7 separate regions of the Homo sapiens genome follow, and regions 1, 2, 3, 4, 6 and 7 are each linked to region 5. The links are contacts of gene promoters, found by promoter capture Hi-C in blood cells and fetal thymus (Javierre and others, 2016). All regions are on one chromosome and are shown on one strand. The core of a region is centred on a gene start or on the middle of the fragment in contact, and the rest is flanking DNA. Distances in the headings are between cores, read along the strand shown. Region 1 has its middle 42 kb from the start of LINC01911. Region 2 has its middle 260 kb from the start of LINC01911. Region 3 has its middle 220 kb from the start of LINC01911. Region 4 overlaps MBD5 (methyl-CpG binding domain protein 5). Region 5 holds the start of ACVR2A (activin A receptor type 2A). Region 6 has its middle 200 kb from the start of LINC01911. Region 7 overlaps LOC107985824 (a long non-coding RNA gene).

Evidence for each region. Contacts are between HindIII fragments. The CHiCAGO score rates a contact against its expected background, and 5 or more counts as called.
Region 1: a fragment that was not itself captured here is called in contact with the fragment with the promoter of ACVR2A in region 5 in 1 of 17 cell types (endothelial precursors); the score reaches 5.1 in endothelial precursors.
Region 2: a fragment that was not itself captured here is called in contact with the fragment with the promoter of ACVR2A in region 5 in 5 of 17 cell types (M0 macrophages, M1 macrophages, M2 macrophages and 2 more); the score reaches 9.2 in M0 macrophages.
Region 3: a contact is called between a fragment that was not itself captured here and the fragment with the promoter of ACVR2A in region 5, in 1 of 17 cell types (M2 macrophages). The highest score is 5.8, in M2 macrophages.
Region 4: a fragment that was not itself captured here is called in contact with the fragment with the promoter of ACVR2A in region 5 in 1 of 17 cell types (total B cells); the score reaches 6.5 in total B cells.
Region 6: a contact is called between a fragment that was not itself captured here and the fragment with the promoter of ACVR2A in region 5, in 3 of 17 cell types (M1 macrophages, activated CD4 T cells and endothelial precursors). The highest score is 6.1, in M1 macrophages.
Region 7: a fragment that was not itself captured here is called in contact with the fragment with the promoter of ACVR2A in region 5 in 1 of 17 cell types (endothelial precursors); the score reaches 5.6 in endothelial precursors.

Annotation. Positions count from the first base shown.
Region 1 is chr2:146,878,496-146,881,607 of GRCh38, forward strand. No RefSeq gene overlaps it. Among named protein-coding and RNA genes, the nearest start is that of LINC01911, 42 kb to the left of the region's middle. The HindIII fragment of the contact is 1,939 bases long and covers 682-2,620 here.
Region 2 is chr2:147,091,121-147,094,285 of GRCh38, forward strand. No RefSeq gene overlaps it. Among named protein-coding and RNA genes, the nearest start is that of LINC01911, 260 kb to the left of the region's middle. The HindIII fragment of the contact is 3,129 bases long and covers 1-3,053 here.
Region 3 is chr2:147,058,091-147,061,056 of GRCh38, forward strand. No RefSeq gene overlaps it. Among named protein-coding and RNA genes, the nearest start is that of LINC01911, 220 kb to the left of the region's middle. The HindIII fragment of the contact is 6,225 bases long and covers 1-2,966 here.
Region 4 is chr2:148,503,538-148,506,680 of GRCh38, forward strand. The region is part of intron 12 of MBD5 (methyl-CpG binding domain protein 5); the gene reads left to right. Among named protein-coding and RNA genes, the nearest start is that of EPC2, 140 kb to the right of the region's middle. The HindIII fragment of the contact is 8,569 bases long and covers 1-3,143 here.
Region 5 is chr2:147,843,659-147,846,928 of GRCh38, forward strand. ACVR2A (activin A receptor type 2A) reads left to right here and starts at 1,371. Exons shown (of 11, transcript NM_001616.5): 1 at 1,371-1,549. The coding sequence starts at 1,495. RefSeq lists an enhancer at 1-471 and silencers at 598-787, 868-977, 1,733-1,812. The HindIII fragment of the contact is 3,923 bases long and covers 1-2,595 here.
Region 6 is chr2:147,036,593-147,039,528 of GRCh38, forward strand. No RefSeq gene overlaps it. Among named protein-coding and RNA genes, the nearest start is that of LINC01911, 200 kb to the left of the region's middle. The HindIII fragment of the contact is 1,754 bases long and covers 587-2,340 here.
Region 7 is chr2:146,930,592-146,933,951 of GRCh38, forward strand. All of the region lies in intron 2 of LOC107985824 (a long non-coding RNA gene), which reads right to left. Among named protein-coding and RNA genes, the nearest start is that of LINC01911, 95 kb to the left of the region's middle. The HindIII fragment of the contact is 1,113 bases long and covers 1,271-2,383 here.

The DNA.
Region 1 (3,112 bases), core at 401-2,900, 960 kb before region 5:
AGTAAAATGCCCTAAGATATGAAAAGCTTACCTTTAAGTAGAAATATTCTGGGTACTTTTCTTCTTTTAAATTATCAACTTTATTGTATGATTTGTTCTATAGATTATCTATTTATTGTTCATTTCTAAACCTTAGGATTCCGAAATCTTCAGCAAAATAAATTACTCAACAGGTAACTAATAGTGTGGCTGAAGGAGGGACAGGAGTTGTTTTGATTATTTCATTTGTTTCTATGAGACCTGTTTGGAAAGCTAGGCTGGCAGAAGCACAGCATTTTTACAGATACCCCATCAACTAAAAATGCATATGTATAGAAAAAGAGAGATCACTGATATTATATATATAATACACATGCATGCATGCATATATACACATAATGTATACATATGAACATATATGCATGTGTATACATATAGATATATGAAATATAGATCTATATCTACATTATATATTATGTATTAGGAAATACAGATGTATAAAATGAAAGTATTTTAGTAAATGGCTGAATCTAGAATTCCCAAGTAAAGCTGTAATTGTCACTTCCCTCTTTATTCTGTGCAGATACTAAGGAACCATTATCAAAGGGCCAGTAATCCTTTGGCCATTTTTTTATTTTTCATTTTCTAAGGATAGCTTGTTTTGTAAGTTTCCTCTATGTTATTGGCATTATGTTACTGGAAAGCTTTTAATTCAATAAATATTTGGCAAGTATATATTGTGCCAAGAATAGAGATATTAATTTTTAGAAAGACTCAAGCATGAGACATAAACGTTTGAAAGAATGAGTCGTACTTTGGAAAGTACAATATAACAAGAGCAGTGCCTACTTTGTTTGTGCAAAAAAGGAGGTAATTAACATTACCTGAGAGGGATCAAGAGATGGCTTTTCAGAAGGTGACCTGCAACATCGATATCTGTCCTCCAGAGAGAAGAAAGAAGGTTTTCTTCAGAAGGGAAGATCATGTGCTAAGCAACAGGAATTTGGAGGCACTAGGTAAAAGAGAAAGTTCAAGAAAACTTAGGGTTTTTCATTCTACAAGAAGATAATTGGACTGCTACCTTATTTCCATCTCTTGCATGTGTAGCCACAGAAGGAGCAGTTGCATTTTCTTTTAGCACCTCATCTTGACTCTAATTCTACTCTAAATGTATCTGCTATAGATTAGCCTATTTTTGTTTCCATATGTACCTTTACGATAAGACTGATAATAAATATCCAGTGATAATCTCTCCATTTATTCAATAAATATTTATTGAACTACATTGTATTAGTTTCTATATATAAAGGTGATTATTTCAAAGACTTCTTTAATTAATTAATTAATTTAGAGACAATGTGTCACTCTGTTGTCCAGGCTGGAGTGCAGTGGCACGACCTTGGCTCACTGCAACCTGTGCCTCCCGGGTTCAAGCAATTCACCTGTCTCAGCCTCCTGAGTAGCTGGGACTACAGGTGCGTACCACCATGCCTGGCTAATGGTTTGTATTTTTAGTAGAGATGGGGTTTCACCATGTTAGACAAGATGATCTCAATCTCCTGACCTCATAATCTGCCTGCCTCGGCCTCCTAAAGTGCTGGATTACAGGCATGAGTCACCGCGTCTGGCCTTTAAATTTCTTACATTTACTACACAGCCCTTCTACATTCTTTTGGGCGGGGGGGGGGGGGGGGGGGACTAGCTCCAAAGAGATTTCTCTATTGCTCTAATAAATCCATTCTTCTAGCTAAAATTGGTTATCTTCTGTTGCTCAGTTTCTCCAACTCTGCCTCAGTGCTCCTGTCAAGAACGCCTCTGCCATCTCATCTACAATAATCTATCACTTAACAATGGGGATATGTTCTGAGGCATATTGTTAAGCAACTTCATCACTACATGAACATCACTTATACAAACCTAGATGGTGTAGTCTACTACACACCTAGGCTATGTGATGCAGCATATTGTTTCTAAGCTACAAACCTGTACAACATGTTGCTGTACTGAATACTGCAGGCAATTTTAACACAATAAGTATTTGTGTATCTCAACACAGAAAAAGCACAGTAGAAACACAGTATTAGAATCCGACAGACCACTGTCATATATGTGGTCTGTTGTTCACTGAAACATCATTATGAGACACATGACTGTAAAAGCACCAAGCCTTGTCTTTACCAAGTCTCACGTTTTCTTTCTCCAAGGAGATTTTTCTAGAACAACCCAACCCAATTGTTTTCTTTCCCTTTCAAATCTACTGCCTTGAATTTTACTGTTTAAATACTTTCTCCTTATCTTTCTTCCTAGATATTAATCATCTTTAGGATTAGAACCTAAAGCGTAAGTCTAATTGTGCCCAGAATTGCTTCCTTCCAGTGGGTTCCTGGTCTCGTTGACTTCAAGAATGAAGCTGCAGACCCTCACAGTGAGTGTTAACAGCTCTTAAAGATGGTGTATCCTGAGTTTGTTCCTTCCAGGTGTTCAGATGTGCCTGGAGTTTCTTCCTTCTGGTGGGTTCGTGTTCTTGCTTACTTCAGGAGTGAAGCCACAGACCCCCGTGGTGAGTGTTACAGCTCATAAAGGTAGTGAGGACACAAACAGTGAGCAGCAGCAAGATTTATTGTTAAGGGCGAAAGAAAAAAGCTTCCACAACTTGGAAAGGGACCAGAGCGGTTTGCTGCTGCTGGCTCACGTGGCCAGCTTTTATTCCCTTATTTGGCCCCACCCACGTCCTGCTGATTGGTCCATTTTACAGAGTGCTGATTGGTCCATTTTACAGAGTGCTGACTGGTGCATTTACAAACCTTTAGCTAGACACAGAGTGCTGATTGGTGCGTTTTTACAGAGTGCTGATTGGTGCACTTACAAACCTTTAGCTAGACACAGAGTGCTGATTGGTCCATTTTTTACAGAGTCCTGATTGGTGCGTTTGCAAACCTTTAGCTAGACACAGAATGCTGATGTGGTACGCTTTTACAGAGCACTGATTGGTGTGTTTACAATCCTTTAGCTAGACACACAGTGCTGACTGGTGCGTTTTTACAGAGTGCTGATTGGTGTATTTACAAACCTTTAGCTAGACACTGAGCACTGATTAGTGCGTTTTTATAGAGTGCTGATTGGTGCATTTACA
Region 2 (3,165 bases), core at 239-2,738, 750 kb before region 5:
AATTGCAAAGTGCTTCTTTCACTTACTAAGTATAATTCGAGGGATTTGATGTACTTCTACCTACTGAAAAAGACTGACATTCACTTTCTTAAGCCTCCTCTTCCTCCCCCTGCAAATACACACACTAGAGCTTAGCTTTTCTAGCTAAGTTACACTTCGTGTACAATCCCATACCTGCCTGTTAACTCCTTTATTTTGGAATGCCATGGATTTGATTTTTCCAGTACTTACTTGCTTGTGTTGCTGAATTATTTGGTAAAGTTCCTTACTTTGCCCTATGCCAGTGTTTTCCATCTTTCCAACTGAACCCACAAAATGCACAGAAATAGAGATCACACTTTTTATTACTAATTATTGTCAATTAATGTAATTGGATCAATCATTGTTTTAGCATCTTTTTAAAATAAAAGACAAAATCACTGAATTATGAGTTCTAACGTTCTTCATAAAAAATTAGTAAGAAAACTGGAGAAGCCACTTCCTCATTATGAATTCATAGTTTTTGAATGTCTTCTGGGTTTCAGATACTCCTCCAGATTCCCTTGGCTTCTACTTTATCCAGCTAAACCATTGTTTAACCTGTTCAGCTAGTTTCATTTTTTTGTCTTCTAGACTGTTAAATCAGCCCACATTCTGCTCTAAAAAGTAAATTCTCCTGTAAAAATGGCTTACTTGCTTGTCTGGCTTTGCACTAGAAGGAACCTTATGGTTTATCAGATGTATAAAATACCTCCTTCCAAAGGATAAATTCTTCCTTAGAGCAACATTTTATCATGATTTCAGCAGTAGGAAGAGAGGAAAGAACAATGAGTATCAAAAAACCTGGAGAGAGGTTCATGTCTTAGTAGGAAAGAAATATTAGCTAATTTATAAAATAATTTGGGTTTATATTTCATTTTTTGCAGTTTATATTACATAGAAAGGAAATCTATGGCCGGGTGTGGTGGCTCAGGCCTGTAATCCCAGCACTTTGGGAGGCCAAGGCAGGTGGATCACAAGGTCAAGAGATCGAGACCATCCTGGCCAACATGGTGAAACCCCGTCTGTACTAAAAATACAAAAATTAGCTGGGCATGGTGGCGGGTGCCTGTAGTCCCAGCTACTCACTTGGGAGGCTGAGGCAGGAGAATCACTTGAACACAGGAGGTGGAGGTTGCAGTGAGCCAAGATGACGCCACTGCTCTCGAGCCTGGAGACAGGGCAAGACTCCGTCTCAAAAAAAAGAAAAGAGGAAATCTTGGCTAACTTAAGAGGGACCACACAAACAGATTGTCTTCTGAAAGGCTACCTATAAGTTTATGTGTTGGTAGGTTCAATAAGCTACTATACGCAGGGCATAGTACACTATGTTGGTGGAAAGCAAAGTTGACACATTTTTTCTTTGGAATGTAGCATTTCATTTATCTATGTACATTTTTAAGTGAAAGTTTCATAACAAGAGGGGCTTCTGTATCATGATTGAAAGTGTCAACACATGAAAATATTTACTTTATCATTTATCTTTGCCACAACAATGTTATGTAATAAGCAAACACAAACCTCAGGGACACCCACACCATTCAGTTTTGTTCAGGAGTCTGTGGGCTGGCTGGGTGGTTCTAAATTGGCTGATGTGGACTGAGCTTACGCATGTGTCTGTGATCAGGTACAGGTTGGCTAGGAGTTGGCCAGTTAAGGAAGGCCTCAGTTGGGCTGACTAACTCTGTTCCATTTGGTCTCTTGCCCTCCAGCAGACAGGCCTGGCTTATTCTCATGGTGGATATAAATGTCCAAGAACAGCAGAGGCACACAAAGATTCTTGAGGTTTAAGGTCAGAATCAGCACATCATCATTTCTGCCATATCCTGTTGGCCAAAGCAAACCATGAGGCCATCTCAGTTTAAGGGTGAAGAAAGAAATCATGTTCTGATGAGAGGAAATGCAAAGTCACTTTGCAAGAGGTGAATATATGGGAGTGCGGGGAATAATTGTAATCATTTTTTGCAGTCAATCTGCCATACCAATCTCCTGACATTCTTGAAGCAATTCAAACACATTTTCCTTTACTACATCAAATGAGGTAAAAAAAATATTTAATTTAAACAAATAATTCATCATGACTAAAGAAAAAAATGCCATACATTTGCCAGTGGGTCATGTTTGGTACACAATGCTAGCCTAATTTTCTCTTTTCCTAACATAAATAAATTTCAAAACCTCATGAAGTTCGACCAAGTAAGATTTTTGCATCTTACTTACCACTACATGTCTGTGTCTTGTTCATTTGTTTTTGAAGCTAATAGCAACAAAATCTTCATGGAGGGGAAATAAAAACATTGTTTCTATAAGATATGTATATATACATCCTCCTCTAACTAAAGGTAGTAATACCTAAGTCTGTCTTGACTTTCAGTGAGTCTTGGGACTAACCATATAACTGCATCTGCTCATAAACTCCAGGGCTATTCTATATAATTGCAGGCTTACAGACCCCTACTCCTGTTCCCTATTGAGAAATTCTATTCCCTATTCTCATTATAAAAAGTGCACAAAAATCTTAAATTACTGAGTCCCACATTTATTTCTACATGTGTAACTAATTAGACTTAGCATGATATTTTTAATGCAGTACATCAAGACAATGGCTGGAAATATTTCATTCCAGATATTTTCTTAACTATATAAATATTTGAGATCTAGATGGTTTTGAGAGAGCATCTTTTGTTGCTAGCAAACATGTCCTCCCTAAAGAAGAAAACCTTTTACAGGGACTAAGAATAGAGTATACCACTTATACTGAAATTGAGAAAGACATGAACTTTCAAGTCACTGGGGCTCTTATTTAGTACATTAAAGAGTAACTTATGAAACAAATGTTGCCTTTAACGTGTCCACATGGTGCCATATGGGCTTATGCAGAACCCTGTCCTTGTAAACAAGAATGAAATGTGACTTATCCACACTGGGTATATACCTTAAGAATAGTGTTTCATCCCAGATTCCCAATAAAAAGTTCCTTTAGGGAAATGAGTGCTAACAGAAAATGCCTTTCTTTAAAATATACTATAGTAAAAAGCTTTCTTATGTCAAGCAAATAGCTATGCCAGTCAGACAAAGACTCCTATTGAGAAAGAATTCACAATGCCTTAGGTGGTCCCGTTTTCAGCTTCCTGACTTTTAACTCCT
Region 3 (2,966 bases), core at 353-2,852, 790 kb before region 5:
TCTGGAAGGATAACACATTGCATCAATGATTTTTATGCTAATACTCTTTTCAATATCTGATTAGTCAGTAACAATGACAACAACAAAGCAAAGGTTTTAAAAATGCTTAAAGGGTAAAAGGGAAAGGAAGAAATTAGAAGACAAGCATGTGCTGTTCGCAACTTCCTGGATCACAAGGGGCTTCTTCACCCTCCATTTCCTTCCCTAAGAGTTCCCAGAGCCCAGGCTCAGTTTCATGCCCAGAAACAGCAACAGAGATGCTAGGGCCCAACCGGTTTCAGAACTCACTGCCTCCCATAAAACTATGTCTCTTAATTCTGATGCAGATAATAACAAAGGCAGATGACCAAGCCAACAAACATTTTCCCCATGCCGCCTTCCTTATATTAGTTGAATAAATGTAAGCATATTAGGTTCGTTGCCTGATGCACACAGCAAGTCACAAAGCCGAGACACCAGGTTGCAGCAGAGAAAAATGTTTAATCGTAGGGTCACTGAAAGAGGAGATAAGAGAAAACCTCAAATCCATGTCCCTGAGGAGTTTAGGGGTAGGGTTTTTAAGGGTTTTGGAGTGGACTAAAGTGTGGAGACCCTTGATTGGTCACAGAGCGCAAGGTGAAGTCACTTTCCTGAAGACAGGAAAATGAAGAAGCTGTATTTTCATGCTGATCCTGTTCCTCTGTGAGGGTCTTCAAACTGGTTGTTGGAATTCAGGATCTGAAAAACATCTCATGCAACTCTTAAACAAACTGTCACAGATCCTGTCTATAGGAACCATGGGAATGCAAATCAATTCTTAAACAGCCTTAAAATCCTAATGTCAGAAATCCTATCAATAGAAATAATGGAGATGCAAATGGTCAGTATCTAGTGCTGCCTGACTTTTAGCAACAAGGAAGTGGGCCAAAGTGCAGCCTAATTAATCTTTAATTATAACTATATTTCTGATCAGTATCTGGCATGCAATTCTTGTCAACCCTGTAAGGATGGTTTCCTAAAGGTATGGAGTGGTCCATCCATCATGTGAACCCTCCACAGACCCTGAAACTACCGTGGAAGATCAGATGAAGCTGATTCACATGCATTAGCCTCAGAAAATTCTACCAGGACACAATTCACCCTCTACAAAACAATGATGTATGGAGCCTACACAAGTCCTTATTCTTTACAAAGCTGAAACCTGAGAGGTAAAGCTACTTTCACTGAGCTCTGAAACATTTCAGACTCACTTAGTGGAACCCTAAAACATCAGTTACTCTGAGTCCACTGAATATTTTAAGTATTCAAATGCATCCTCCCTCTAAGCAACGCATAATAGACATTCATTATAATGTTTTTTGCATGTTAGTAAGATAGCTTTTCTGAGATAGAGGTTTCTGGTAGTAGTTTATTAAAATATTAGATATTAGACCACCTTGTAATTCTTACAGATTTGTTTATATTTTCCCTTTGTCCTCTGTATTAAAAGGAATAAAGGTTTTGAAGGTTTTTCCCTAAAAATAGAAATAATTTATTTAAAGAAAAAATAATTTAGACCTTGGTTGAAATTATTAGGCAATAAGAATTATATTTAACAATGTATTTTCAATTAATTTTTAATTAATCCAGATAAAATTATGAGAAGGGTATATTTGCCAAATATAAAAATGAATGATAACAGTATAAAGACAATTAGTCAAACAGACTGAGAAGCCAAAAATGAAATTACATCTAATACTTTTGTTAATGCAAAAGAACAAATGGTATCATATTTGGAAGGTTTTCTTTTGTAAAATTGCTTAATCAAGAGCCTGAGGCTTCAGTACTGTTGGACAGTAAAGTTAGACTGCTCCCCTCCCTAACATCCATTTGTATCGTAGCTTAGATCTTTAGCTAATTCTGTTAAATATTGATTTTCAACCACTGATTTACACAGGAGACCTGGAAGTGAAGCTATTTTTAATACTCTCCTTTCATTCCTCCAGGAGTCAGGCCATGGCTCAAGGACTCCATGGAGATATACATGTGTAGAAATACATGTCCAGTGGAATAGTTGTTGGATGGAAGTGAGATTTCAGGAAAATAGTAATGGACTCCTAAGAAGGAGCACACATTACGGGGTAAGGAGTAGGGACCAATGAATTAAAAATAGCCCTCCAGGATGAGGAAGGTAGAGGAGTATAGGCTCTGAGCCTACCATGTGGCTTAAAGAGAACCCCATAATTCTGTCACCCTGGAGTATCAGATGTGCCTTTGGAAAAAAAGGTGTGTGTGCGTGTGTGTGTGCACACACGCATGATCTGGAGAGCAGTGTCACTAAAAAACTATAGCTGTCTGCACTCTAGACAGGTTCACTGTGGGACACAACTTAATAAACAGACAGAAGTAACAAACAGCCTTTTATTTTGTCAAAACTGAATGAGCAAAGTATTGGAATATCTCTTATAAAATTTGCATTGCAATGGCAATGGCAGGAAATAACCCAAGACGCAAGAACCACTCCACAGAGCTGTCAGTAAAAGGCAGCATTGGCTCTTGCCAGCAGAAGAAGAGAGGATTTTGATGCTACAACCAGGGTTAACAAGTTTTGGCCACTTAAGGTTCTGGCACCTCCATGTGGCTTTCAGAAAGGTCAGTGTTGTTGCAGCTCAGTCTTTGACTACAGTTCAGCTTCTACTTTGGCTGTAGAGAAAATGCAGAGAATTATTATGTAGGCACCAATCTCAAGCCCTGGAGGTTTTGAAAAAATTGGAGGAGAAAACTTCCAGAAAGAACTGGAGATCAAATTTGTAAAGCAGATGAGGATTTTGGACCATCATTATTTCAACATACATGTAAATGTGGCCTTATTTATACATACTTTCTTTAAGGCTTATTACATGGTAGGTAATCACTAATCTGGTTTTCTAATTTGTCCCACTTCCCTACTACAAGGAAGGTCAAAAGAGTGAATGATACAGCTCAGACGTACAAATCCTATATTATTC
Region 4 (3,143 bases), core at 266-2,765, 660 kb after region 5:
AATTTTAGAAGTCAACAAATCTTAGGAAGACTCTTCACCTCAATAAAAGGTATCTGAAAAGATGACAGCTGCAAGGGGCAAACTCCTATGTCTCTATGTCCCGGACTCCTTTAAAAGGTAGCAAATTGGTACTGGCTGTGTGAAAGGCCAAGTTAATTGCCGGATAACATCCCTCTAGACCTGATAAGGAAAACAGGGATCAAGGTCCCTTCTACTCTTACTGAAGCACACTTGCTATGCAGAGCTTAGCAACAAGATAAGGCCACTAAAATTAATACAAGGTCTGGATAAAAGAAGGAAAATTGCAAATTACCTACACCACAAATTTGCAGTGGGCCAGTTGCTGTAAACTATTCAACAGTACCCATTTCTTTGGTGTAAAGGAGCCCTGAAAATGTTTCCTACAGTGAAACATGCCAGTTACTTGGATTATGTACAAAATAAAGTTAATAACAGAAATAAAATAACTCCTCCAAATATTCAAATACACTGCCTTGAAATGAGCTGTATTTTCCCCATGTATTTGCTATTAAGCAATTTCTGAAAGGTAATGAAAAACAAACTACAATTTTAAAAATGTTTCTTCAAAGCCAATTTCCTATTTGTAGTAAATTAATGTGAGAGCTATCTAAAGGAATTCTCCTCATGATAACCATAAACTTAAAGTACAGTTTGGAGAAGTAAAAGTAGAAAATACAAAACTAACATTTATAAAAAGAACTTTATTTACCATACTATTGTCTAAGCAGACAGACTTTCCTTTTCGATGCCCAGTAGAATGCTTTACATTTTGCACATGTAATTGCAAATTCATCATTTTATTCTCCCAGTCACGAGATGGGTCAAAATTACTGAGCCATTTGCAGATGCGGACACTCAGACTCAAACACTTTAAATAATTAGTTGAAAGTCCCACAACTGATAAATTATATGTTGAACCAAATCATTTTTTAATTTATGCATTTATTCCCAATTTAAGAAGACAAATTTAGCAAAAAAAATCTGTGCCAGGAACAGTGCTACAGTCCCTGAAGCTCACTGTTTAGTGAAAGAGACAGATGCAGAAACAAGTAATTCAAATGTCAAAATTGCAACAACAGCAATATATATACTATATTTTTGGGTCACAGGGAAAAGGCAGGTAAAGGAAGGGTTCCTAGAGGAGAAGATATGTGGGCCAAGCCTTAAACACTACATAGGCATCAGCCACACAAAGGAAACAAAGACGAAGATGGGGTGGGATAGTGTTTAGATGAGAGCAGCAGTTGGATTTGGGGGACTGTAAAGTATCGGATGGGAAGATATAAGAGGTATAAGCGGGAACCAGATCATGAAGGGCCTAGTAAGGACCAATAGGATGTTTTATTGTTTTGGAAGTGCCTAAAGGGGGCAGGTGGTCAGATTTTTCACCTTAGGTATGGCCGTGTACAAGGACAATTTTAAGGCAACAATATTGAAGATGAAGAGATTGTTCAGGAGCCATGGCAGAATACAAGGGAGAACGAGGACCCAAACCAGGAGCTGGTGGAGTTGGGGATGAGGATGGAAAAGAAGGAATGTGGTCAAGAAATACTTAGGAGGTAAAATAGACAGAACATGGGGTGATTGATCAGAATGTAAAGGAAAGGGAACAAAATCAAGGACAGCTCTCAGGTTTTCAGCTTGGGAGACTTGGTAGGTTGTAGAAACACTGACTGAAGTGGAGGTTACAGGGGGAAGCTGTTCAGTACAGTTTGGGGTGCCTGTAGGATAGGCTGGACATACGTGTCTGAAACTGGGGAGAAGTGGTATTTGACAGTATACAAATGACTGCAGTCACACAAAGATACTTTGACCAATTTGAAGAATAGTAGGCTAAGGATTGAACATGCAATAGAATGAAGAAGATGGGAAGAATGGTCAGTGAGGAGGAGGAGAATCAGGGAAAGTAGACAGAGTCTCAGAAGTCAAAGACTGATAAAATGATCAACAGAGGTGCAGTAAGACAAGAACTGAAAAATCCCCATCAGATTGGGCAATTTGAAGGTCACTGGTAAACTTCAGTGAGAACAGTTTCCAGTAGAGTGATGGGTATACACACAAAATGGCTATTAAATAAGAATAAGGAAATAGGGAGAGGAGATGTAGATTATTTACTCTTCTTTCTACCCATAATGTGAAAAATTCCTGAAAAATAACGAAGAAAGAATTTTTAAAATGACAAAGATTTGACTACTTTTGTAGACTGAGGGGAAGAAGAAAAGAGGAAAAGGCTGAAAAAGGAAGGTGTCATTTGGAGCAAGATAATTAAGAGGTTGGTTTTTCACCTGGACTCAAGTCCTGTTTCTACCACTTCATAGCTGTGTGTTCGTAATCTCCCTGGGCCTAAATTCTTCATTTCTAAAATGGGCATAATCCTATTTTAGGATTGTTATAACATAGATAATATAGAGAGAGCCTCAGCACAGTACTTGGCACATGGCATTTAGTAAATAGCTATTTTTCTTATAAAGATACAGGTGAAAGAAAGAAAATTATCTGTTATTTTTGCCAGTTGAAACATTCTACCACCATATTAGATGTTTGGTATTTTATATAGTCATTTTAATCCTCAGTATCCTCAATCAAACTGTACAACAAATAAATATCTTTAAACATATGTTCTAATTATATCCTAGTAGTAACATATTTATTTAATACATTACTTAGGGCAATTTTGTACTTAAAAGCAGAAATAGCTTTATTAAAGAAAAATTCCACAGCTTTTACATATGTTATAGTTTTCATTTAAGCGAGGAGCAAATCTTCTGTCTATATGTACGTATACATTTCTTGGGAAACCTGATTTTTTGTGAAGCTGGAAAACAATAAAGTGATTAAGTAAATCACATTTTCACTTTAAAACCAAGGAATGATACTTACCATGTTAAATTTCCTGAGATCTGCATACATTCCCCATGGATTCAGTTTCAGAGCTCAGGGTTTTTGACTTTTAGGTCTCACCCAAATTTGTTACATACTGTATGAAGTGAGTCACTTAAACTCTGAACTGACAGTGTAGAACAACTTGCAATTTCTCATTTCCCTTCTATTTCTTGTACTACTCATAGAGGTGTACCTGGCTTTTTAAAAAATTAGTGAAGATAAAGATAATGTGTGACAGT
Region 5 (3,270 bases), core at 121-2,620:
CACCTATTACGTGCAAAACAGTTTTCAACACAATGCTTTGTGTGTAAAAGGAACGGCGGGAATGGATTCAAGTTGCGCATCGTGATAAATGGCGTGAATATCCTGAGCGGGTGGACAGCCCTTCCTCCGTGAGTTTTTTCTTTTTCTTTTCTAGTCACCAAGACAGCACGCGTGTGCAGAAGCTGCAGCGGTGGGACGCAGTGCTAAGTCTGGGGGCGCACACACCAGCTCGCGCGTCGCGAGCTCGCCTGGGCAGCTCGGCGGGCGCGGCGAAACAGCTCCCACGTCCGCCTTCCACCGACTCCTCGGTATCAGAGCGGACGAGGCGTCCCCCCAGAGGAAAGACTGGGCGCCGCAGACGCCCCTTGGAGAAGTCCCTGGCCACTCGCCCCACCTCGGGGTCCTCTTCCTCTTGGGCTTCTCCTGACCCTTTGGGTGGGCGCTCCAGACAGGCCCGTCGGACGCGATTTGGAAACGGGTCGTGCCCGGCCTAGCCCGCATCTACTCGCCCGGCCACAGCCCAGCCACAGCTTAGGGACTTTGAGGCGCCCGCGCCCCTTTGTCGCGGTATCTCTAGCCCAAGCAGGCCGGACGCCGAGGCCTCGCGGTATCGAGCCTCCGTCCGCCCCGCCTCCTCGCCCTCCACTCCGCCCCGCCCTCGCTCTCTCACCCCTCCCCCGCTCCCGCCTCGCTTCCCCGACAATCTCCTCGCGCTCCCGGCCCGGCACGCGCGCTGCGCCCGGCCGCCGCTGCCGCCGCCGCCGCCGCCGCCGCTGCCGCCGAGCGTTCCTCCGCTGCGCCTGGCTTCCAGCTTCGGGCCGGAACCGGAAGTTTGGGGGGCGGAGCCCGGCGGAGGCCAGGAGACCGAAAACGCGGCCGAGCCCGGAGCCCGGAGCTGGAGCCAGAGCCTGGACCAGAACTTGGCCGCCGCCTGCACCGCCGCCGCCGCTGCCGCCCGCCGCCCCTTCCCCGCGCCGCAGCCGCCTCGCCGCCACCGCCGCGAGCTCGGCCGCCAGTGGTCCTCGGACTTTAGGTGTCTGGGTTGAAGGTCGGTCCGGACATCGGACCCAGTCAGTTCCCAGACTGTCCGGGCGGCAGCGGACGCCGCTGCCGCCGCCGCCTCTTCGTCGCCTCAGCCTGGCGTTTTGTTCCGAGAGACGGGAGAGGCGAGCGGAGCTGACAGTGATTTTGACAGTGATTTAAACCCGCTTTTGTTGTTGTTGGCTTTTCGTTGTTTGGTTTTGTGTGTTGTGCGTGTGTGTGGCGGTTTTTCCCCCGTGGTGCATTTTATTTTTTATCGTTGTGCTCTTTTTTTTCTTTTTTTTTTTTAACCCAGTGAGCGTTTTTTTTTTTTTTTTTTTTTTTTTTTGGTCTGGGCTTCCGAATATGTTTTATGACGGTTGATTTTACACCAGGAGGTTTGTCTCCGAGGAAGACCCAGGGAACTGGATATCTAGCGAGAACTTCCTCCGGATTCCCCGGCGCCTCGGGAAAATGGGAGCTGCTGCAAAGTTGGCGTTTGCCGTCTTTCTTATCTCCTGTTCTTCAGGTAGGTGCAGGGAGCGCGGCGCGGTGGGGCTGCTCCTGCGGCCGCGGCGGCCGCTGCTGGGGGCCGCGGCTGGTGTTGAGTCGGAGAGTCCAGTGGAGCCTGGGGAGGTTGCCCACTCCCTGCGCCCCTCGGCTGCCACCGCCCCCCCCCCCCGCCCCCAGGTCTGATTGTGATCTGGAAACCTCCATGCATTTTTCTCTTTTTGAGTTGGGTCGGCGAGCTGATAAGAGTGAGTGCTGTGTTGTTGTGGAAGTGAGAAAGTCATGTTTTGTGGCCATAACACTGGATGACAGCGCTGGTTGGGTTGCAATTAAGCCGCAAATACCACAAGTGACAATTTATGCAAAGGTTGAGATCTGAAAGGAGTATTTAGTGTGGGCTCCTCCAAAACAAGGGTTGCTTTTTGTCATCGTTTAATTAGTGCTTCACCGGTGAATATCACGACATAGATCAAGCCAGTTGCTGCTTAATTTTGGCTGTGGGAAACAATACATCCTATCAGCAATTTAATCTGGGTCTCCCCTCACGTTTTCTTCAACTTCAGCGTCCAGCAGTGTTAAAAATAGTTGTAGTTGTTGTTGGAGTATTAACTATAACCCAGTGCAGAAGAGGTATGCCGCTTGGTATTGGTAATGTGCTGGCGTTCAACCACCATTTGTGTGCTCTTTTGGGGCATAGATTTTGCTTACCTACGGAATACTTATTTTAAACGCTTTGTATTGAAGCATTGTTTTCGGTTTAGAACAACCCATGTGAAATTGTTTTTGTTAAATATAGTACACTCATAAAATAGGTTTTAGCTCAAGGTTGGGGGAATAAACGGGCCATTTTATATTGGAAATTTTGATTTTGTGAGGACGTTCTATGGTTGCAACCAGTGGTTGGAAAAACTATCTAGTCTTTTGTATTTGAAATTCTATAAATAAATACAGCATCTAGCTGAAAGGTGTGCAGATGTACATAACAGGAGAGTTAGTTCAATAGATGAAACATTTTAAATAAGTCTCATTGGATCTATTTATTGTAAAATTTAATATTCAGTTACAAGCTTGTGGCATAGAATTACGGGGGACTCTTGGAAACGGGGGCGAATTGACAGGTTTCATGGCCATGTCTTTATCTCGTTTGCCACAGGAAAATTAAAGGGTGGTAGTCTTCTTTGTGTACCTCTGTGGGGTGTGTGTGTGTGTGTTTGTGTGTTTGTGTCCGTCTTCCCCACCCCCCTTTAAATATAATCTTTTGTAATGTATAGAATTTTGCTGAATGGTACATTTCCTTGTGGTTAATAAATGGATAAAGTCTAGTCTTATGTCTGTAGTGGTATTGATCAGTTCCGGGTGGGCTGAATGTGTTGTGAAATGGCGATCATTGCCAGAGATTAACCAAAAGAATCATGTCTGTTTAAATGGAAGAAGGAACATGCTTAAGGCAGGCTGACAGTTCTTTTTGTGCACGGTTTGGGAAGGAAGCTAAACAATGGTGTGTCTGAAATGAATGAAGGCCTTGATAACATTAAACCTCTTGCTTTTGTGACATGACTTAACCATGTAGTTTTTATCTTTCCAGTAGTACTCTTTTTTCCTCTGCTTCTATATGTTGTGGCTGGTGAACTCCTCTTGTTCAAATCCCTTGTTCTGATCTCTTGCCCTTGAGGAGGAGGGGCATCATGGCCACTGACCAAGGAATTGTGGACATTATTCCCTCTCAAACCCACCTGAGTC
Region 6 (2,936 bases), core at 214-2,713, 810 kb before region 5:
TTTAACACCTGAAAGAAAATCAATCAGATATAAAGGAAAATGCAATATATATAGGAACATGGGAATTAATAATAGAGCAAAGTAATCAAGTCACCTACATCGTGCTGATGTTTACTGTCATCTTATACATGACTTTCTCTACTGGAAAATGTTACTTCAAAATTAAAACATCATAGTACTATGTTACTGAAAGACTTTTTTGAGAGTAGCAAAATTCTAGGTTTCATTTTTTCTCTCTCTCTCTCTTTTTTTTTTTTTAATTGAGACAGAGTCTCACTCCATTGCCCAGGCTGGAGTGCAGTGGTGCAATCTCGGCTCACTGCAACCTCCACCTCCCGGGTTCAAGCAATTCTCCTGCCTCAGCCGCCCGAGTAGCTGGGACTACAGGCACACACCGCCACACCTGGCCAACTTTTTTTATCTTAGTAGAGGCGAGGTTTCACCATGTTGCCCAGGCTGGTCTGGAACTCCTGAGCTGAGGCAATCCACCTGCCTCGGCCTCCCAAAGGGCTGGGATTACAGGCATGAGCTACCATGCCCGGCCCTAGGTTTCATTCTGATCTCAATTCTTCCCCCTTTGGCTAGAAGCTTAAAAAGCAGAGCTAGTTATGTCTTCAAGGTAGAGGAAATACGTGTTTATAATCACATGCAAGCTCAGTAGTGGTTGAGACTATTGTGGTCAGAATAAAAAGATGTCTAAAGAAGGGAGTGGTTGATAATGTCAAGTTAAAAGAGGATACAGGAGGCCCAGTCTCTAGTTCAACTGCAAAGTTTCACATATATTGAAAAGAAAACAGTGAGCAAGATAATTGCTAGGTTTTTTATTAATCTAAAATCATAGAAGATGAAAAAGAAAAATGGAGATTTGAGAAAGCACATGAGTTTCTTTGGATTTAATGCACTTACTAATTTTTAAATATTTTTAATGAATGAACAATCATCTTACCAACACTGAGTATCTCTAATATTGAGAATGTTGGTAGGTTGTGAAGGCATTTATTAGAACAAAGAGTGTATGTGTGTATATATATATATACACACACACAAATATGTGATAAGTAGAAAAATATAAAAATGTATCCATTTTAGTGTAGTGCAGTACACCTCAAATTTGGGTTCTGTAACCAACCAGCAGGAAGACATTGAGCAATTTACTTAACCATATGGCGATTCAGTTTCCTTGTCTGTGAAATGGGTAAATATCAACCTCACAAGATTATTATGAAGATTAAATGAATTAATATATGTAAACCAATGGGAATACAGCCTCGTACATAGCAGGCACTGTAGAAGGTTAGCTTATTTTTATTAAAACGGTAACACGGATGAGGAGCTTAAGTATCCCTAGGAGTTTTGTTAAAGAGAGCTAAAGTGTAAAGATGTGACACATGGGCTAAGAGGAGAGGTAGAAAGAAGAGAGTGAGGAGTTGGAAAAAACATTACAGGTACTGAGAACAGCTTTTGTCAGATGCAAAGATGAAAGTATAAACTCCTGGTAAGTTTGGTATTTCTAGAACTAAAGTGAAGAGACAGGGGAAAAATGCTAAAAGATTAGGCCAAAAAGGATAGGACCTCATCATTAAAGGCCTTGTGTGCCAACTAATACACTTTATTTTATTTTGTGTGGATGGAGAGATCCTAAATAGCTCTAAACAGGGAAATGACGTGATCACACTGGATTTATTTCTGGAAATGAAAAGATTGATTTTAGAATACCTTAACTGGAAGATTGAAAGACCATAGGCCTATGATTATTTCTGAAGTTAAATGACTATTAAAGGTTAATGTATAAATAAAAAATTAATTCACCAAGATTAGCTTCTTATCAATAAATGACAATTTAATGCCTGTATCTAAGTGCTTCCTATAGCAAGACTCTATGGTAAAAGATCCTGGGAGCCACTGTGACCATAATTTGTTCAAATCTAATAAAAAGGTTTAGTAAAATAGAATCTATATGAAAAATAGCAATGCGGACCAAATACTAAGCAGAGTGCTTAATCATTCAATAAAATTTACAGACCACCCACAAAACGTATATCTAAACTCTTTTCATGCAATGTAAATCATAAGCAATGTCATCTTACATTGGCATAATGCTGTATAAGCTACTTTCACTGCCACTCCTCCTTTTCCTGCTAAGATTAAAATTTCCATCTTATTAGAGAGGGTTGAACATTTCATTCACTAAGAAAACATTTTTAAGGTGCTTGGTATATGGCAGGCAGCATTCTAGTTGTTTTACAAATATTTGCTTTTTTAATTCACATAACAACCTTATGAGGTGGATGGTATTTTTAACCCCATTATAATATTAGGAAATTGAACTATAGATAAAGAAGCTTGCCCAAGGTCATTAGGCAAAGGCAAAATTTGAATCTACATAATCTAGCTTCTAAGCCAAGCTCTTAATCACTAGATGTACCCTCTCTCATACATGGAAAAATTTTATTCTAAAGGGAATTCTAGGTAACTTTAACAATTCAAAAAAGGCAACATTTTCCCCTTTTGTTTAATACTACTCTGACACTGCTAAAGATGTCTATGAGATGAAAATAATTCAACTTGTTTGTTCATAGATTTCCAAACTAATTGAGATCATCTCTCAGCTGTCTCTTCCATTTGCTTCTCTATAAGCAAAGAGACCACAAACTGACTTGAAAAGAAGACTATTTACTCTTTCCTTCTCCTTGTGTTCCAACAAATACCATTCCTACCCTGGCCTTGACACTAATTCCAAAAATCCAAGCTTCTATCTACTGAAGAAAGAACCTAGCCTTTCCTTGTGTAATTAAAACTTAATTGTAAGCCTGTTTTTTATAGTGTTCATTTCAGACTCTGCTTTCTTAAGACTCCAGTGATCTCTCTATGTTGATGTCTAAAGGACCCACGGAAGGTTTAGTCATCACTGAAACAATGTCCACCTTCAAAAAGAC
Region 7 (3,360 bases), core at 577-3,076, 910 kb before region 5:
TCCCTTTAAATGATACAGAGCTGGGGAAGGGAAATGCTGGGTAGAGGAGGGTGTGGTCCCTGGCTAGGGCTCCACCCCCACGGACCTAGGTGAGGACAGGCATTTCCTATCCAAATGTTGCATTTCCCAAGACCATTCTGGCCTGCTACGCCCCTATCCTTTGCCCATAAAAACACCCAAGACCCTAGCAGGCAGACACACAGGCAGCTGGACATGGAGAGGAGCACAACACTCAGGTGGCTGGACATGGAGAGGAACTAACCGACAGGCACCAGCACACTGGCAGGCCACCAACCATCAGAAGCAGAAGAATGTGGAGTTTGGCTGAGGCAGTCGGAGGAGAGCCCAGGCTGCTGGGAGGCTCAACTCCAGAGGGAAACCTTCCCACTCCATCTCCTTCTGACTTCCCCCATCTGCTGAGAGCTACCTCCACTCGATGAAACCTTGCACTCATTCTCCAAGCCCAAATGTGATTTGATTCCTCTGGTACATCAAGGCAAGAACCTGGAATACAGAAAGCCCTCTGTCCTTTTGATAAGGTGGAGGGTCTAATTGAACTGGTTAAGACAAGCCACCTATACACGACAAAACTAAAAGAGCACCCTGTAACACATGCCCACTGGGGCTTCAGGAGCTGTAAACATTCACCCCTAGACACTGTCACGGGGTTAGGGCTCCACAGCCTGGTTATCTGTGTGCTTCCCCTAGAGGTTTGAGCAGCAGAGCACTGAAGAAACAAGCCACACCCACATCACATGCCCTGCAAGGGGGATAAGGGAACTTTTCCGTTTCAGTACCACTGCACCCCAGGTTGGGCGACAGAGCAAAACCCCGTCCCAAAAAATAAAAAAAAAGATTCACCAGGTGAATTAAAGCCTGAATAAGAATATATAAATATAGTTATAAAAGTTTGAGAGTCAAAAGAGAAAAGTGAATCATAAAGTTGCATAACCTAGCAACCATAGGTCTTTATATACTGTTGTTGTTTTCCCCCAGGAATCTAGAAAAATACCAATTTGAGTTTCAGTCTTCGCTTGAAGCTCCCTCACATATACTTTTTGGGTGATAAGGATATGAGTTTTGGTTTGATTTTTAAAGAATAATAATATACAAGAACCACAAAAAGCTATTAAATATTTTTAAAAAATAATGAACTACCAAAGGTATCCATTTGAATAAAATGTGAAATATACGACTGGCAGAAGGGGTGAAAAATCAAACTATAATTCAACAATTGAAGACCATGTATATTAATATTAAATATTACAAAAGCTTTATTTAAAGTAGTCCATAAATTAGTCACCAATTACTTTTAGTGATTTTTTAATTCTATTCAAAATACAGTCACATTGTTTTTAAAAATTAATAATGTTTCCAATAAGACACAGAGTTTAAATAACAATGGCAACAATGTTGGAGTTTCTCTAGTGAAAGAGCCAGAGTTTAAAAAATAGTTTAAAAAACAGATTTATCAATTTCAGAAATCTTAAACATGACTTCCCATAATCAATCTTTTTGATGTGTTCATTACAAAGTACCTGTTCACAATAAGCTGATGGCAGTGGAGATTACCATACTGAAAAAGGTAGAGGTTCTACTTTTTATAATTTAAAATAGTATTTGTTATTAGGTGGATTTTTTAAATTCAACTTTTATTTACATCCTATTATATAGAAGATGCTAAGCTACTTTTTAACTTTTAGCTTTTTAACTTTTACTTTTTACTTTTTAACTTTTTACTTTTAACTTTTTAACTTTCTACTTACTTTTTAACTTTTAACTTTCTATTTACTTTTTAACTTTTTACTTTTTAACTTTACTTTTTAACTTTTACTTTTTAACTTTTATATGGTTAGGCTAAATTTATATTTTCTAGCTAGTAAGAGGCGTAAGGAGGAATATATATATATATATATATATATATATATATATATATATATATCTGCATGACTTTCCGTTATCCAGTAACCAACGGGCTAAGTGTGTAGTCTTCATGAGGACATACTTATGAGTCATCCGTTATGTTTATAAACATGAAACAATAAAAGCAACTTTGAGAAAGAAGAACAAAGCTAGAGGCAGCACACTCTTAATTTCAAACTATATTACAAAACTGTAGTAATCAAAGCAGTATGTAATGACATAGAAACACTCACATAGATCAAAGGAACAAATTAGAGAGACCAGAAATAATACAACCATCTAATCTTTGATAAGGATACCAAGAATACACAATGGTGTTAGAAAAACTGAATATCTACACACCAAAGTATAATATTGGACCCTTGTCTTACACCACACACAAAAATTAACTCAAAATGAATTAAAAATTTACATGTAAATTCTGAAATCATAAAACTTCCAGAAGAAAACATAGGGAAGAAGCTTTTAGACACTGGCCTTAGCAATTATTTTTTGATATAACACCAAAAGAACAGGTGACTAAAGAAAAAAATAAGTAAGACTACATCAAACTAAAAAGCTTCTTCCTAGCAAAGGAACAATCAACAAAATGAAAAGGCAACACATGGAATGGGAGGAAATATTTGCAAACCATATATTTGATAAGGGGTTAACATCTACAATATATAAGAAACTAATGTAAGTCAATAGCAAAAATAAAAACAAAAACCTGATTTTAAAATGAGCAAAGGACCTGAATAGACATTTTTTCCAAAGGATACATGTAAATGGCCAAGAGGCAAATGAAAAGATTCTCAACATCACTAGTCATCAAAGAAAAGCAAATCAAAATCACAATGAAATATCACTTCATACCTGTTAAGATAGCTAGTACGAAATAAACAAGAGATAACAAGTGTTGGCAAGAGTGTGGAGAAAAGGAAACCCTTGTACATTGTTGGTAGGAATGTAAATTGGTACAGTTATTATGAAAAACAGTAGGAAAGTTCCTCCCGCAATTAAAAATAGAGCCTCCCATAAAATCCAGTAATCTTACCTCTAGGTATATATCCAAAGGATATTAAATCAATATCTCCAAAAAGATATCTGCACCCCCATGTTCACTGAAGCATTATTCACAAAAGCCGAGCTATGGAAACAACCTAAGTATCTAACAACAGAAGAATGAATTTAAAAATGCTGTACATATATACAATGAAATATTATCAGCTTAAAAAAATTGGGAAATCCTGACTTTTGTGACAGCATGGATGATCCTGGAGGATCTTAGGCTGAGTGTAATAAACCAGACACAGAAAGACAGATACGTTATGATCTCACTTATATGTGGAATCTAAAAAGGTCAAACTCATAGAAGCAGAGAAAATGGTGGTTGGCAGGGGCTGGTGGGTAGGAGAATGGGGAGTTGTTGGTCAAAAGGTACGCTGTTTTCAGTCA